Linked DNA regions of Homo sapiens: all the other regions are linked to region 3. Evidence: promoter capture Hi-C in 16 types of primary human blood cells and fetal thymus (Javierre and others, 2016). All regions are on one chromosome and are shown on one strand. The core of a region is centred on a gene start or on the middle of the fragment in contact, and the rest is flanking DNA. Distances in the headings are between cores, read along the strand shown.

Region 1 (4,521 bases), core at 1,510-4,009, 3.2 Mb after region 3:
GCTGCAGATGGGCAGTCCTGAGCCAGTTAGGCATGACACATGGTACTAGCTAACCCCAAAGCTGACTTCAAGCAATGCAGAAGTTAGAGCAGCTGAAGGAGGAAATAGAAGCAAATAGATAAATATTTTTTAAATAAGACAAAGTGTGAAAGCACTTTTAAGACAGTTTAGCACCATACTAAAATTATTATCACCACTTTGTTTAGTACTATTTTGTTTAGTACTATGTTGTCTTGGGCAGCCCTTGTGAATAAACAAAAACATCAGAACCTGGCAGAGCCGTAAGCAACAGCCCACTTCCCAAAACGGGGTGAACAGCTGTAGACCAATCAGCGGTGTTGGGTGTTTCCGGCTACTCGATGTGGACATGATTGTGAGTCAGAACCAATTCAAACTTTAACCAGAGCTCCCACTCTGCCAGACACTATAATAGAAGGTGGGGTACAAAGAAGACCAATAGGCTAGGATGCTCAGTCTCATCAGCTTTACAGATAAGCCTCACTATTACCTCTAAACAAAGTGGAAGCCAGTCCTGGCAGCGCACACCTATAACCCCAGCATTTTGGAAGGCTGAGGCGGGCAGATAGCTGGAAGCCAGGACTTTGAGACCAGCCTGGCCAACATACTGAAACCCCATCTCTACTAAAAATACAAAAATCAGCCGGGCATGGTGGCACACACTTGTAATCCCAGGTACTTGGGAAGCTGAGGCAGGAGAATAGCTTGAATCCAGAAGGCAGAGGTTGCAGTGAGCAGAGATCGCACCACTGCACTCCAGCCAGGGCAACAGAGAAAGACTGTGTCTCAAAATAACAACAACAACAAAGTGAAGTGATACTTCACTTTGGAGCTCTCTTTTTCCTAAACTTGGATTCTTAAAATGTTTCTAAGCTAGCAGTTTTGTAAGAACTTTTTTCCTTAAAAATCTGGCACATTTAAAGTATTGGAAATTCTGGGCTTTTAAAAATATTGGGATTATACCAGTGCTTATTTTTCTCTATAAACTAGTCAGAACAGAGGCCCTTTAATTAGAGATACTATAGTGGGATTTATTAATACACTCCAGAAGTAGGGAAATATTTCATATTTACAAAGGGAGACATAAAGCCTGTTCTAAGTTACAGACACACAGACACATAAAGAGGTTATTGCTTCTGTCTTACAACTTCAATCTCAGGTCAAAAGTAAACACAAAACCACAAAAATTCACCAGTTCTTCTGCTTGAGCGGCCTTTATGTTAAAACAAACAAACAAAACCTTACTAGCCCACATCTCAAATAGCTGTCCTCCTTCCCTCTCAGTGGACACAAAAGTAATTAATTAATTTGAGCTCACAAACAATAAACAAAAAGACTTACAAACTCGCTTCTCTGTCACCTCTCTTATTTATTTATTTGAACCCCTGGCCTCAAGTAATCCTCCCACCTCAGCCCCGAGTGGTTGCGATTACAGGTTTGAGCCACTGCACCTATCTACCTCTCTACCAATGAGACTAGACGTCCATCATCCAACAGATACCACCAAATGGTTAGACCACAAAACCAAACTCCCAATCATTGCTGCTATCAATGTATCAGTAATGTATAAGTTATACCTGAATAACTTATCAGGAATGTACAAATCAGAAATGAAAACACAATCTTTAAAAATCAATTATAAAGGAAAAATATATAACCACTTGGGTTTTCTGTAAGAGCAAATAAAAAACATGCCTGGCCTTAAACAACCCATGATGTATACATTTCTTTCGCCAGATAGTTTGATTCATCACATAAATCCAGTTGGGCATCTCTGTGGAAACTTAAGATTTCCAATAATATAGTATAATTATCAAAAACCTAAAATCATGTCTCTAATGTGAACATAAAATATATACATGTCAAACTTTTATTCAACTCATTGGTTAGTGAGGGAACCGATGACTTTAAAACCAATACAGAATATTAGAGAAGCTAGGCATATGTTAATAAAGAAATGTTAGGACAGAATGCAGGGTTAGATACAAAACTGACTAATGTGTTGCAGAACAATAAATCATAACCTGTGTTGGTATCTGGTACAACAAAAAATTATTTGCATCTCTACCAAACCAAAATCTCTACCAAAGTTAACCTTTGCCCCTACAGAATTGTAAAACAGCCCAGTCAATATAATAAAGTCAAGTCCAGAGCAGCACTGAAAGAGCATCCAGTAAATAAATCTCTTTTGCCTATTTCCAAGTTTTAGTCATTTTTTCCACAGAAATGAGATATTGCAAATATTGCACGGGACATAGATGCACTAAAAAACTATTAATTCATCTGAAGTTCATACTGTATTTTATCCGGCAACCCTAACCACGAGTTAACCAAAACTTTACCAAGTCTGTACAGTTCTTTTGCCAACACGGTATCTCTTAAATCTGTTCCTTAGCTTCATCTTTCCCTAGATAATAAATATCATATTAAGCGCTGTTTCTATTGCACGACTATTCTTCATATTTACCACTGGAGGGCGCACAGAACTCGTAGTATACTAGATAAGAGGTCATGAAGAAACCACCTGAGCGTTTCTGCATCTCAACCACAAGAGGCCAGTACAGGAACCTCAGATTTTGCAACCAGACTGTTTACTCGCTCCCTAAGCAGCCATGCGCAGGCGCGAAACTCCTCCCCAGGCCAGACCCGGCCTGCGCATGCGTTCAAGTGAGCGCGCAGACGCTATTGGTAAGACTCGCGGGAAAAGAAAGGGTGAGCGCGGCTGGAAGCGCGCATGCGCTGTGGCTAATGCCGTAGGCTCCTTCAGGGCTGAGCCATCCCGCGTGTCTTGCGCTCGGTGGAAATGCCCAGCCGAGGGACGCGACCAGAGGACAGCTCTGTGCTGATCCCCACCGACAATTCGACCCCACACAAGGAGGATCTAAGCAGCAAGGTGAGTGTGAGACGCGACGAAAAGGCTCCTGGACTCGGGACCGGGCGCCACTGGACCCTGAAGGTGGTCCGCAGCGGGCAGCGTGGGGCCTGCCTGGGCCTCGGCTTTGCCCTGCTACTTTGCTCTTTTTATTCATAGCACTTGACAGCCACAGTTAGTCCTTTTATTTTCTGAAAACAGTTGCGAAAAGGGAGATCTTGAAATTTGTCCCGAGACTGGACCCAGGTGACAGTGGGGCGGAGTTTTGGTTGGGTGTTTTCCTCCCTAGTCTTTTTAAACTTTTGGAAATACCGCCCACCCCAAATCTGTTCCATCAAAGATATTCTCCATCCAGTTAACCATGCCAGCAACCCGGGGTCCATCCTTGACCCCCATCATGGAAGCCTATCAGTTCTACCTTTGAAGCTCATTTCAAATATGTCCCTTTATCACCGTGAACACTCTTACCACCCCAAATAAGCCACCGTCATCTGCTATCGGGACCCCTGCCCCCGGCAAGGCCTTCCTAAGCGGTCTCTCCTCATCCACCTGTTAGCTGCTGCTTCTCCGTTAACCAGAGCAATGGTCCTAAAACACGCATTGGGTTGTCACTCATACCAAACTGGGGGAGAGAGGAAGCCAATATAATATAAGCCTTAACTGCCATAAACAAACAACCTTTAAAGATAAATGGGGGTGGCGAGGGTTATAGCCCTTCAGGTATTACATGTCCTAGATTCTACTTTGGTTCTGTCCCAAACTTACAATGACATCTTGGGCAAGTCTCTTTAATCTTTCTGTATCAGTTACCTTCTTTGAAGTAAAGTGAAATGTACACCTGTCATTCCTAAAATGGGAAAGCCCTGTATAAATGTTAAGTCTCAAAGAATGTTTACAAATTTGGCCTTGGAATTCAACCTCATTACTACAGCTCTGCCAACGGGGGAGACAGAAAGGTGCACATTCATGGGGATTGGGGGTGAATTTTCAAAAGACACACAGCCCATTCTGATTACCACCATAGCAAGCCACTTACGCATACTGGTGGTTACAGATCCCTGAGGTGTGTGTGAGGTAGCACAAATATGATAAAAGCTGCTTTTAGAGGCTCTTGTGATACTATGTAATCAGTCATGTTCACAAAATAAATAGAGTTAAAAAGAAACTTAGTTTTCACTTAGTTGAGCCCTCCCCTACAAATAAATGAAGCCCAGGCCAGCATGGTGGCCCAGGCCTGTAGTCCCAGCTACTCGGAGGCTAAGGTGTGAGAATCGCCTGAGCCCGGGAAGATCAAAGCTGCAGTGAGCCGTGATCGCACCACTGCACTCCAGCCTGGGTAACAGAGCAAGACCCTGTTTCAAAAAAAAAAAAAAAAAAAAAGCCCAGTTCAACAGTGCCAGCTCTATGCTAGTCATTGAGATAAAAAGAGGGAAAAATACCAAGATGGAACATGATAGGTCTTACTGTCCCCAAATAGGGCATTGCTTGATTTGAATGTTTGACTGCAGCACTTAGTACATAAAATCATGAAAATATTGAAAAAAGTAACCCACCCCTCATTCAATTTGCTTTTTTTTAAATCTAAATCACAACTTAATTTTCAATCTAAATCACAACTTAATTCCTTTTGG
Region 2 (4,877 bases), core at 131-2,630, 4.6 Mb before region 3:
CTGTTAGCTGCATCCTACTACAGGACCCTTGAAGGCTGAGAAAGTCTTATAGGTTCAAAGAAAAGATTTTCTAGTAGTGAAATTTCAAGCCATAGAGATATTAATATCACTGTTCTAACTCCCCTGACATTTGGCAGTACATAGATGAGACTCAGGAGAATATTATGATGGTTCTGGAAAGCTAGTCTGGATTTTGGATTTGATCTTGGGGATATTAGTAAACCATTAGAAGATGTCTTGGAATTGTAAATCTAGAGCAATGCGCTAGAAAGGAGATAGGAAAGAATGAAGGCAGGAAAATCAGTGTGCTATTTTAGTAGTCTATGACTTATGTGTAAATGCCTGGACAAAAACTAGGCACTATTTCATCTCCAGAGCATTCTTCATTCCAAATTCTCCAAAAGTTATGGTTTCCTGTAGCTATCAATGACAATGCACTTAATTACCTTGTAATTCGAATGCTTCCATTAGGAATTTTACTATGCTCTGGATTTTAATTTCAAATGAAAAATAATTCCTTCCTTAAAATATTTTGTCTACGCAAAATATTCTTTTCAATCACGTTAAGATTTTAAAAAGTGTTCTAACTTGTTCTTCAGAGCATAGCCAAGTACAATAAAATATTGGAAGCCTTACTTATATGTATAGTTCAGATGTAACATTTAGGGGAACAATGCTGCTTGATAGGTCTGTCACATTGTGTCTGGTTTTGGATAGAATTTGAGTATTTTTGCTAATGAGAATTTAAACATAACAAAACGGAATGCCAAAGCTGGCTTTAAAAAGTTTTGAACCCTGACATCATTTGTTTCTTGTATCATGCTGTCTCACCAAAATCCAAGCAACTATCTCCACATTGTCCCAATTGTTTCCTCTATTCTCCCTCACCAAAGTCCAACTTCAATGTGAAATTTCCAGATTAAATATCCTTTCACAATTCATTTTCATTCATAACATAAACACGATAAATAACTTTAAGTATGAAAGTAGCACTCCAGGAAGCTTAGTCTTTTGCAGTTTTTACATTTTGGCAACACCAATCAAGCACCTCTTTCCGTCCTTACCCCAATTCCTTGGACACTAAAGAGTCTATATTCAGGCGACTCTTTCAAGTGTATGTTTCAGGGTGCCCAAGCAGACACTTGTTTTCTCGCGGGGGATGTTTTGTGAGACTTGGCCTCCCCACTTACGTTCTATTTTTAGGTGAGGGAGGAGGAGGAGGAGAGGAGGAAAGATTATTAACAAACTAATCTTGCCCATTCCGCGGGCAGTAGTCGGGGGCTGGCCTGCTCCGCGTCGCGCCGGGCGCGCCCCGCCCTACCGCGCCCCGCGCGGCCCCGGCCGGAAGGGGGCGTGGGCCGCCGCCGAGGGAAGGCGCGCAGACGCGCAGCGGCCGGCCTGCTCCGGGCGCGTCAGGCAGGGGGTGGGGAGCAGGGGCCGGGCGGGCGCTCGGCTCCCAGCCGCGCTCCCTCGGGCCACTAGCGCTCCCGCGCGCGCCCGGCCGCCTTCATGTGAAGCGCCGGCCCTCCGCCCCTTCCCTCCCCTTCCTTCCCTCCCTCCCTCCCTGTCCCCTCCTCCTCCTCCTCCTCCTCCGGCGCCCGCTTCAGCTCCCCGGGGCCCCCTGCCCGGCCGGGCGCTGACAGCAAGGGCGGGGGTCCCTGCCGCCGCCTTGTCTCGCGCAGGGTCCGGCTGGGGTAGCGGAGCCCCCAGTGCGGCCATGGACCGGCCCCTGTCGTCGTCGGCGGAGGCGGAGGAGGAACTGGAGTGGCAAGTGGCGAGTCGCAGGAGGAAGGCCTGGGCCAAGTGCCGCAGCTCCTGGCAAGCGTCGGAGACGGAGGATCTGTCCACAGAAGCGACGACGCAGGACGAGGAGGAGGACGAGGAGGAGGACCTCCCCGGCGCGCAGCTGCCGGCAGCGGGGGGAAGAGGTCGGTGCTCCCGGCCGGGCTCCGGGGGGAGGCTGGTGGGCTGGGGAGAGTCTCGTGCGCCCTGGGCGCCTGCCACGAGTTCTGGGAGAGCCTCGGGCACGGTAGGCCGAGGGGAGAGGGGACACTTCCGACCTTCAAACGCGCGCGCTGAACGAGGCGCCCCCAGCGTCAACACAGACAACTGGGTGCCATCCGATTTCCCTGCCAAGGGACACTGAGACGTGTCGCTTAGGCTGCATTTGCCGTGGTAGATTTTCCTACTTGGGAGGGTCCAGGGTGACTCCGCCGTCGTAGTGCTCCTGGGTGGTAACGTGCTGTCCCCTCTCTCTACCCCCAGGAAACGTGCCCAACGAGAAGATCGCGATATGGCTCAAGGACTGCCGGTGAGTGCTCCCTGGTCCGCCCGCGTCCCGGGGGAGATCCGTGCGGACGGGACGCCGGAGCAGAGCCACTCGGGCCGCGTCCCTGTGGGTCCCGCGACCGTTGTAAGCTACAAACCGGAAAGTGAGCCGGCGGATAGCTTCCTCCTCTAAGCGATTAGAAATGGAAGTGCTGTGACCGCTGATTATTTGGTGACCGTGTTGACTTTACAGTTAGGACTTGAGCTACTCACGCATCGTGTTAGCATCAGAGATCAGAAATCCAGAACAGATAATCATGCCATATTTGTTCTGTTTTTATTTGAAAGAATTCTCACATCTCGAACAGGATATTTTGTTTTGCTTTAGTTTTGGCATCTGTACAACTGGCACGGAATCATTTTCCTTTCAAATGTGTTTTAGACGAGTTTAATTTACCTAACTACACTAAATGGGCTTTAATTTTGTTTCTGTTTGGGGAGCTATTAAAACTAGCTAACTTTGTACTTATAGTTTACTTCTTGAACATGGAATTGTCAGATGGCACTGGAATTCTCAGGGAATAGAACTTTTAAAAGCATTCAGACTGCATAAATCTGTTTAATTACATGCTTTGGCAACTGGTACAAAAATGTTTGATAAAATACAGAGGAGATGAATCATGTTGCACGTAAATCTGACTACAGCAAAATGTACTTGTTTCTTATTCCACTTTGCTAGTTGTAAAATCAGGAATGTAGCCTTTAAACTTTTGTTGGTGTTTGCTTTCGAGCATATTTTTGCTTTCTCAATTTAGATTTTCTTAATATTTTGTTCAAATATTAGAGTTAGGGTAGTTTGTTTTGTTTTGTTGTGGAAAGTGATTCATATGCCAGTTTGCCTCCTCTAAAGACAGACAAGATATTGGCTACCATGATATTAATGCCTTGTTTTGATGAATCGACTGGAACCTTATTGAACACTCTTTATTACAGAACTCGTACCCTTTATTGGAAGTGTCATAGACCCTTCTGAAATATGATGACATATATGGAATAACTTCTGTTTAAAGATGCACAGAGGCAAATACACTGCTTGAAGTCCTTGGACCCCAGATTTACAATCTAGCTGTAAATCAATCTCCCAGTTTTCAGATAAGCCTTAGATATTAGATACTTCACTCAAAGTATGGATCAAGAAATTGTATTAATGTGCTATTGGTTCATTTAATTGTTAAATACTAAAATAGTCTATAATGTAAAAGCTTGAAATTTTGAATGTACATGTTCAAGACCTTTTGGGTGAGATCTGATAAAACTAGTATCTTTCAGGTTTCCACTTAGAAATGTGTTTGAGAAGTTGTTTTGTAACTTTTACTTAAGTCCTTTAAAGCCTCCAATCTGACTCTTTATTTAAATACAGTCCTAAGTACAGTATTGGCTTACTTTAGGTTTCTTAAAATAGGCTTAGCATTACAAATACATTTATAATGTTTTATTGTTTAAATTCAAGTGCATATTCAAAAGAATTTTAAAAATTAAGAACAAGAGAAGAATCACACTATAGTTTAATGACATATAGGATTTAAGATTGTATAAGAGATCCTATCAATTAGACAGTAAATAAGTGCATCTTTTTTGAGACAAATGCAGTAGGCAAATGTTGACATTCACCAGGGCACAGTCAATCCCTGACAATTTCAGAAGTTTTGTTGCCAATACTGATTTATGTGGGCAGATTCTGTAGTCTGCTGCTCCTTCTCTCATGGATTACCTTCTTGTTCCTACAGTTGCACCTATTCTACACAAGAGTGGCATTCATTTGTATCCAGGAAAGCTAGAACAAGTAGTCTTTTAATCTTGGCTATATTATCACAGATTCGACTTAGGATATGTTGCATCTGTATTTTTGTTTTAAATAACAACTCAAGTTCCTTCTCAGAGTTGGGCATCTATGTATTTTGTTTATTATGTACAAATGACCTGAAGACAGCATTTTACCCACTTGATAAGTTCTCAAATAGTCTTTGTTTCTTAGTGCCGTCCATATCCTGAATAAAGATACCGTGTTTTCTTTCCTTAAAGGGAGTCTTTATTTTGATAACCATTTGTGGGGGGACTAAGTAAAAACTGCTTGAATTAACATTTAAGAAATGGTAGAGATTTTGATAGAATTTGGAAGGGAGCAACTATAAAAGTAAGATATTTGTTTTCGAAGGAGGATTCCTGTTACTCTGCTTATCTACCATTTTCTGTTAGTGCATAGACCAGTAGAGACATCTGTGGACAGAGTAATACAATGTTTACATCCAAGAAAGTAGCCATCAGGGAAGGATGACTTTTTAAAGACATACATTAGAATTTTATTAAAATATATGCAAAAAATAGATTAAAGCTTTTATTAATATATTTATGGTAATTGCTTGTGATTCTTTTACGTTTCAAAAGCACTAAGTTTTAAAGAGCTGCCATTGTTAGTATACTTGTAGAAAGTTTTAACCTTTAATTGGCATTTCAGTAACATTTCCTTGAAACTGATATTTTCATGATTGATCCCATGTCTCGTGAATTTTTAACAGCTATAAATTGTTACTGAAGAAAGGTGTGCATCA
Region 3 (4,528 bases), core at 241-2,740:
AAACAAAGTCTCAAAGGAGACGATCCCCAAATAATCAAATGGATAATAATACTGAGTAAAGAGGGGGCTGGCTGCATCCCTCCATCCTCTGACAAGAACTATGACAATTACAAAAAATAAAGATGAAAATATGTAAAAGGGGGGGAGCCCATTAACCTGCCAATATGAGCCCAAATGAAAAAAAGTGTGTCAACATACACCTGCCATTCTCGACACAATTCTTTTTAGTAGCTATCACATTTCTTCTACACACACACATACACACACAAAACATACTTGGGGTTCCTTGACATTATCTTACGTAGAAAATTACTAAGCAAATAATCAATTTGACTAAGTAGGGGGGCTTATCGTTTTCTCCCTATTCAAATTAATGAAAAAGATAAAAAAACTTTTATCTATAAAGATGATTCTTGGTTCCACAATGCTTCTTAACAGAAATAGTTTAAACAATAATCATTTTAAAAAATAACAGCTAAGCATTGTACATTTTTAAAAAATAGTATTTTCGTTTGTACAAATATCAATGGGTCCCATTCATCATTCAAGTACCTTTTCAAACAGGATCTAAGTTTGTAATGTTAGGTAATAGGCATATAGGCTGAAGCCGGACTGCCAAGATTACAATTGCTGGCTCTGTCCTTAATATAACTTTGGGCATCTTTCTTCCTTTCTCTGCTTCATCTATAAAACGAAAACAGTAACAACTCCCACCTAAGTGTCGTTGTGATAACTAAATGAAATAGTGTGTGTAATGTGCCAAGGAATTTCTGGAGCTACCAAGCACTTAAACTAAGTTCTAACTAAGTTTGGTTACTTTCACGTTATAAAGGAATTTTTAGGAATCACCTAGGCACTCTCCTAAAGTCTCAAAATAACTTAATACAGTACTTCTAAGGAGTTCAAGTGCCTCCTTATCTGGGACGCCATCTCAGATGCTCTTCAAATGAAAGGGACCCTGCAAATGAAAGTTAACTTTTTCCATTTTTTAAATAATCCTTCGCAGGAATCTGAAGCACGCGACACTCACGGGCCATTCAGCTCCGCCTCTCCAGGGAACAAGAAGGTTAACTGAGTAACGTGGTCACGGAGCAACCCCGAGTCGCTGCGGCTGCTTAGTAGTCACTCAGGATGGGGATGGTACAGGGGACCATTAACTGGCCCGGCAGGAAAAGTTTCCCGGTGAGGTGACGATGGACAAGAGTCGCCCCATCGTAAGCGAAAGTGGACTGAGAGGAAGCACAAACGCATGGACTCAACCAGCTCGCCCAGATTCACCCTCAGGCCTTTTGCCATCTGAAAAGGGCCTATCGGATGCGCGACATCACGAGTGACGCGTAGTCATTTTCCCACGTCCCGTCCCTGCCCCCTCCTAGTGGGACGCAGTGGGCGCGCACGCGCAGCTCCGCTTCCGGGAGCCGCTCCTCGCTACCCACTATGCTCTGCGACATCGACCTGTCGCAAAGGCCGCGTTTGCGGGGCCAATGAGCGACTCGCTTTCCGTGCGGTGCGGCGAGTGAGGCCCCGGTCTTCCTCCTCGTCCTGCCGCAGGGCCAGAACCCCTGACGGTATTCAGCTGCGCGTAAGTCTGGCCGGTGCCATCTGTCTCCGCAATGCCCCCCAAGAAACAGGCTCAGGCCGGGGGCAGCAAAAAGGCGGAGCAAAAAAAGAAGGAGAAGATTATCGAAGTGAGTACCCACCCCTCCCCCACTCACGCCGCGAGCCCTCCGGAAAGCCACTTCCCCGCTCCGGGCTTCCCTGGGAGCCGGCTCGCTTCCTCGGGCCACGTGTTCCTCCCTTAGGCCTGTGTGGCCCACTGCCCCTTCTCCAGCCCCTGATGACGCTAGCTCTCTCATTACTATAGTGACGCTGCTGGCGCCCCCGCACCTGGGCTTTGCCTCTCCGCCCACACGCCCGTGTTCACCCACCCATGCACCCGGGTGCGAAATGACCCCTCGGGACTGGCACAGGGTTTTATCCTTCGCTAGTCCTCTCAGAATTGAGGAGATTTTCCAAGGTTATGTGTGAAGAAATACGCTGAACGGTCTCGGGCCAGCGTCTTTCTGGAAGACCGACTCATGACGAGTCTTTGTGTTCGTTATTTCTTTACCCGTCACCCAGGGATGGTACTGTTAGTTCTTTTGAACCAACAAATTACGACTTGGTGGCTTTTTCGATCCACCTCTGAAATGTTTAAAGTCCCATAAAGAATGGAAGGACTTTCCGTCACAACCCAGGGTCTTGAACGCAGAGCTTGGTACTTACATTCTGAAGTGGATTAAATAGGATAACGCCTTAAAAGAGATTAGGTTTCAGTGTCACTAATTGTGTGAAGTCCCGTAACCCAGTTTGAGATATATGTGTGTGTGTGCGCGTGTATATATGTATACATCTATGTGTGTGTATATGTGTATATATGTGTGTGTATATATATTCGTTTAACACATTGAGCCTGTAGCCCTTTAATGGCCAAGGAACGCTATTGACGTTCTTACATGTTGTGCACTTGTTTTCCAACAACTGAATTGAGTTTCCTTAAAAGATGAACCATATTTGACATTACGTAAACATACCATACAGACCCCAACGAGGTATTTCTTCCCTCGATTTCTGCTATTAATCCTCCTCATAATTAAATAGGACCTCTTGTACTTTGGATATAATTAGAAAAAGCCATGACCATTTTACCGCATAAGGTGTAAAGTCTGCTCATTGGATTTAAGAAAATGCTTAAGAATTTTGCTATACTTGGCCAGGTTCCAACTTTGGAGGAGAACTGGTATTCTTATTGCCAATTTGTACAGTTTAAAACTGTCATGAAGTACTATAGCCAGACACTTAAAAACAAAATATTACCTTCACATCTGTGTTTTCTATTACCTTATTTGAACAATCTGGATTCGTGGCACTTAGGTAAATTTCAGGGGTTGCTGATCGGATGGCATTCACTTTTATGAAAACCAAGGACATTTTAGGGATGTCGTTTTCCTCGAGATTGGACCCTGATACGAAGTAAAACTCCCATTGAAATTAAATGTTATGTAATAATTTAGACAATTTAAATTATACTTCATGCATTGTAGAGCTTTCTCTATATCTAATTGTTTTATTTTTAATTAGTAGGACTAGTATTCTTATTTTAAGGAATTATGTGTGAAAGTTGTTTATAGTATCCATCAACTTTTAAAATGATGCATATGTTATGATTCTAGTCATCTTGTGACGAAATTATTTTTTAGCTAAAGAGAAAGCAATTTTAGTTTCAATAATGAAGGTATCTCCAAAGAAAAATGCAAAATAAGACAACTGCACTTTTTAACTAAAAATATTAACAACAACAAAGTGGTGAAATTAAGCCCGATTTTGTGTTTTCTACATTTAATATATATTATTTTTTTAATTTATTTTTTGTTGAGGTATAACTTATGTAAAATAAAATGTACAGGTTCTAGATGTATAGTTCTATGTGTTTTGAGGAATTTATTCACCCAGGTAGCTGCCACCCTAATTAAGACTTGAAACATTTCTATCACCCCACTAAATTTGTTTTGTGCCTCTTTCTATTTAATTCTTTCCACACGTGCAGCCACTAATTTTTTTGACAGGATAGATTAGTTTTTACCACTCTAGGAACTCATATAAATTATACAGTAGGTAGCCTTTGTGTCCTTCTTCTTGCTTTCACACCATGCAGTGTTTTTGAGATCCATGCATGTTGTGTATATTTCTAGTATGTTCCTTATTGCTGAAAAGTATTCTCTTGTATGGGAACCATTACAATATGTCACCTTTTGTGTTTAGTGTCTCTCTCTACTTGGAGGAACCAAAAGACGTTATAATTGACGCTTGAAAAACAAACTTAGGATTCCAAAATGGGTTAGAGGCGGTGTTTGTTAAAATCTCGGCAGCCAGAATGGATTATTTTGTGGCTAATGGAGTCATCTGTAGGGACCTTAACCTTGGGGCATACGCTGAGTTGGCATGAGAGTGTCCAATCATCTGTATACATTAGAGCTACAGGATAGGCATCATTAGGGGATCTGGGTGGTGTGTCTATTTCTCTGGGAAGGACTGGTCTTGACTACACCCTCAGTTAATTGCAGTTGTTGAGCTTCTTGCTTTTGCTGAATATGCTTGCATTTTGCTTTCTTGTGTTTTGTGCTATCATTCTTTAACCTAACCTGCAGTACCGTTGGATGTATGTCTTTGAGGCCATTTCTTTCTGAAGACTGAGGTTTGGGTATGGGTTCTTAGTGAACAAGATGTTCAAATATTCCATTTGTTTCTCAGTGATCATAGTTTGTTTCCTTTGAAATGTGTCCACTTGCCTTTAAGAAGGTCCTCCTAGCCTGACATCTTGTAATCTAGATGTTCTTTTATGTTCTGGTCCAGGGACCTGATGAGCTTTTTCAAAAAATACTGCAACAAAGTTTGTCAGACTCATGTGCAACATTGATATTTGCTACTACTGGAGAGGTACAACAATATTTTGAATTGTAGTGTTAAGTTACAGCATTTGTGAAATTAG

The links. The method cuts DNA at HindIII sites, captures the fragments that hold promoters and counts their contacts. A CHiCAGO score of 5 or more calls a contact.
Region 1: the fragment with the promoter of ASNSD1 here is called in contact with the fragment with the promoter of ZC3H15 in region 3 in 1 of 17 cell types (naive CD8 T cells); the score reaches 7.9 in naive CD8 T cells.
Region 2: a contact is called between the fragment with the promoter of ITPRID2 here and the fragment with the promoter of ZC3H15 in region 3, in 1 of 17 cell types (total B cells). The highest score is 8.3, in total B cells.

What each region holds. Positions count from the first base shown.
Region 1 is chr2:189,658,700-189,663,220 of GRCh38, forward strand. It overlaps ASNSD1 (asparagine synthetase domain containing 1), which reads left to right and starts at 2,760. Exons shown (of 6, transcript NM_019048.4): 1 at 2,760-2,911. It overlaps ASDURF (ASNSD1 upstream open reading frame), which reads left to right and starts at 2,760. Exons shown (of 4, transcript NM_001353493.2): 1 at 2,760-2,911. The coding sequence starts at 2,822. RefSeq lists an enhancer at 2,818-3,007. The HindIII fragment of the contact is 6,437 bases long and covers 1-4,521 here.
Region 2 is chr2:181,890,350-181,895,226 of GRCh38, forward strand. ITPRID2 (ITPR interacting domain containing 2) reads left to right here and starts at 1,381. Exons shown (of 18, transcript NM_001130445.3): 1 at 1,381-1,928; 2 at 2,266-2,311. The coding sequence starts at 1,718. RefSeq lists silencers at 1,258-1,587, 1,878-2,017. The HindIII fragment of the contact is 2,528 bases long and covers 1,001-3,528 here.
Region 3 is chr2:186,484,770-186,489,297 of GRCh38, forward strand. ZC3H15 (zinc finger CCCH-type containing 15) reads left to right here and starts at 1,491. Exons shown (of 10, transcript NM_018471.3): 1 at 1,491-1,688. The coding sequence starts at 1,614. It overlaps LOC105373785 (a long non-coding RNA gene), which reads right to left and starts at 1,231. Exons shown (of 2, transcript XR_001739147.3): 1 at 1,031-1,231. It also overlaps the pseudogene DPRXP1. RefSeq lists an enhancer at 1,121-1,600. The HindIII fragment of the contact is 12,604 bases long and covers 1-4,528 here.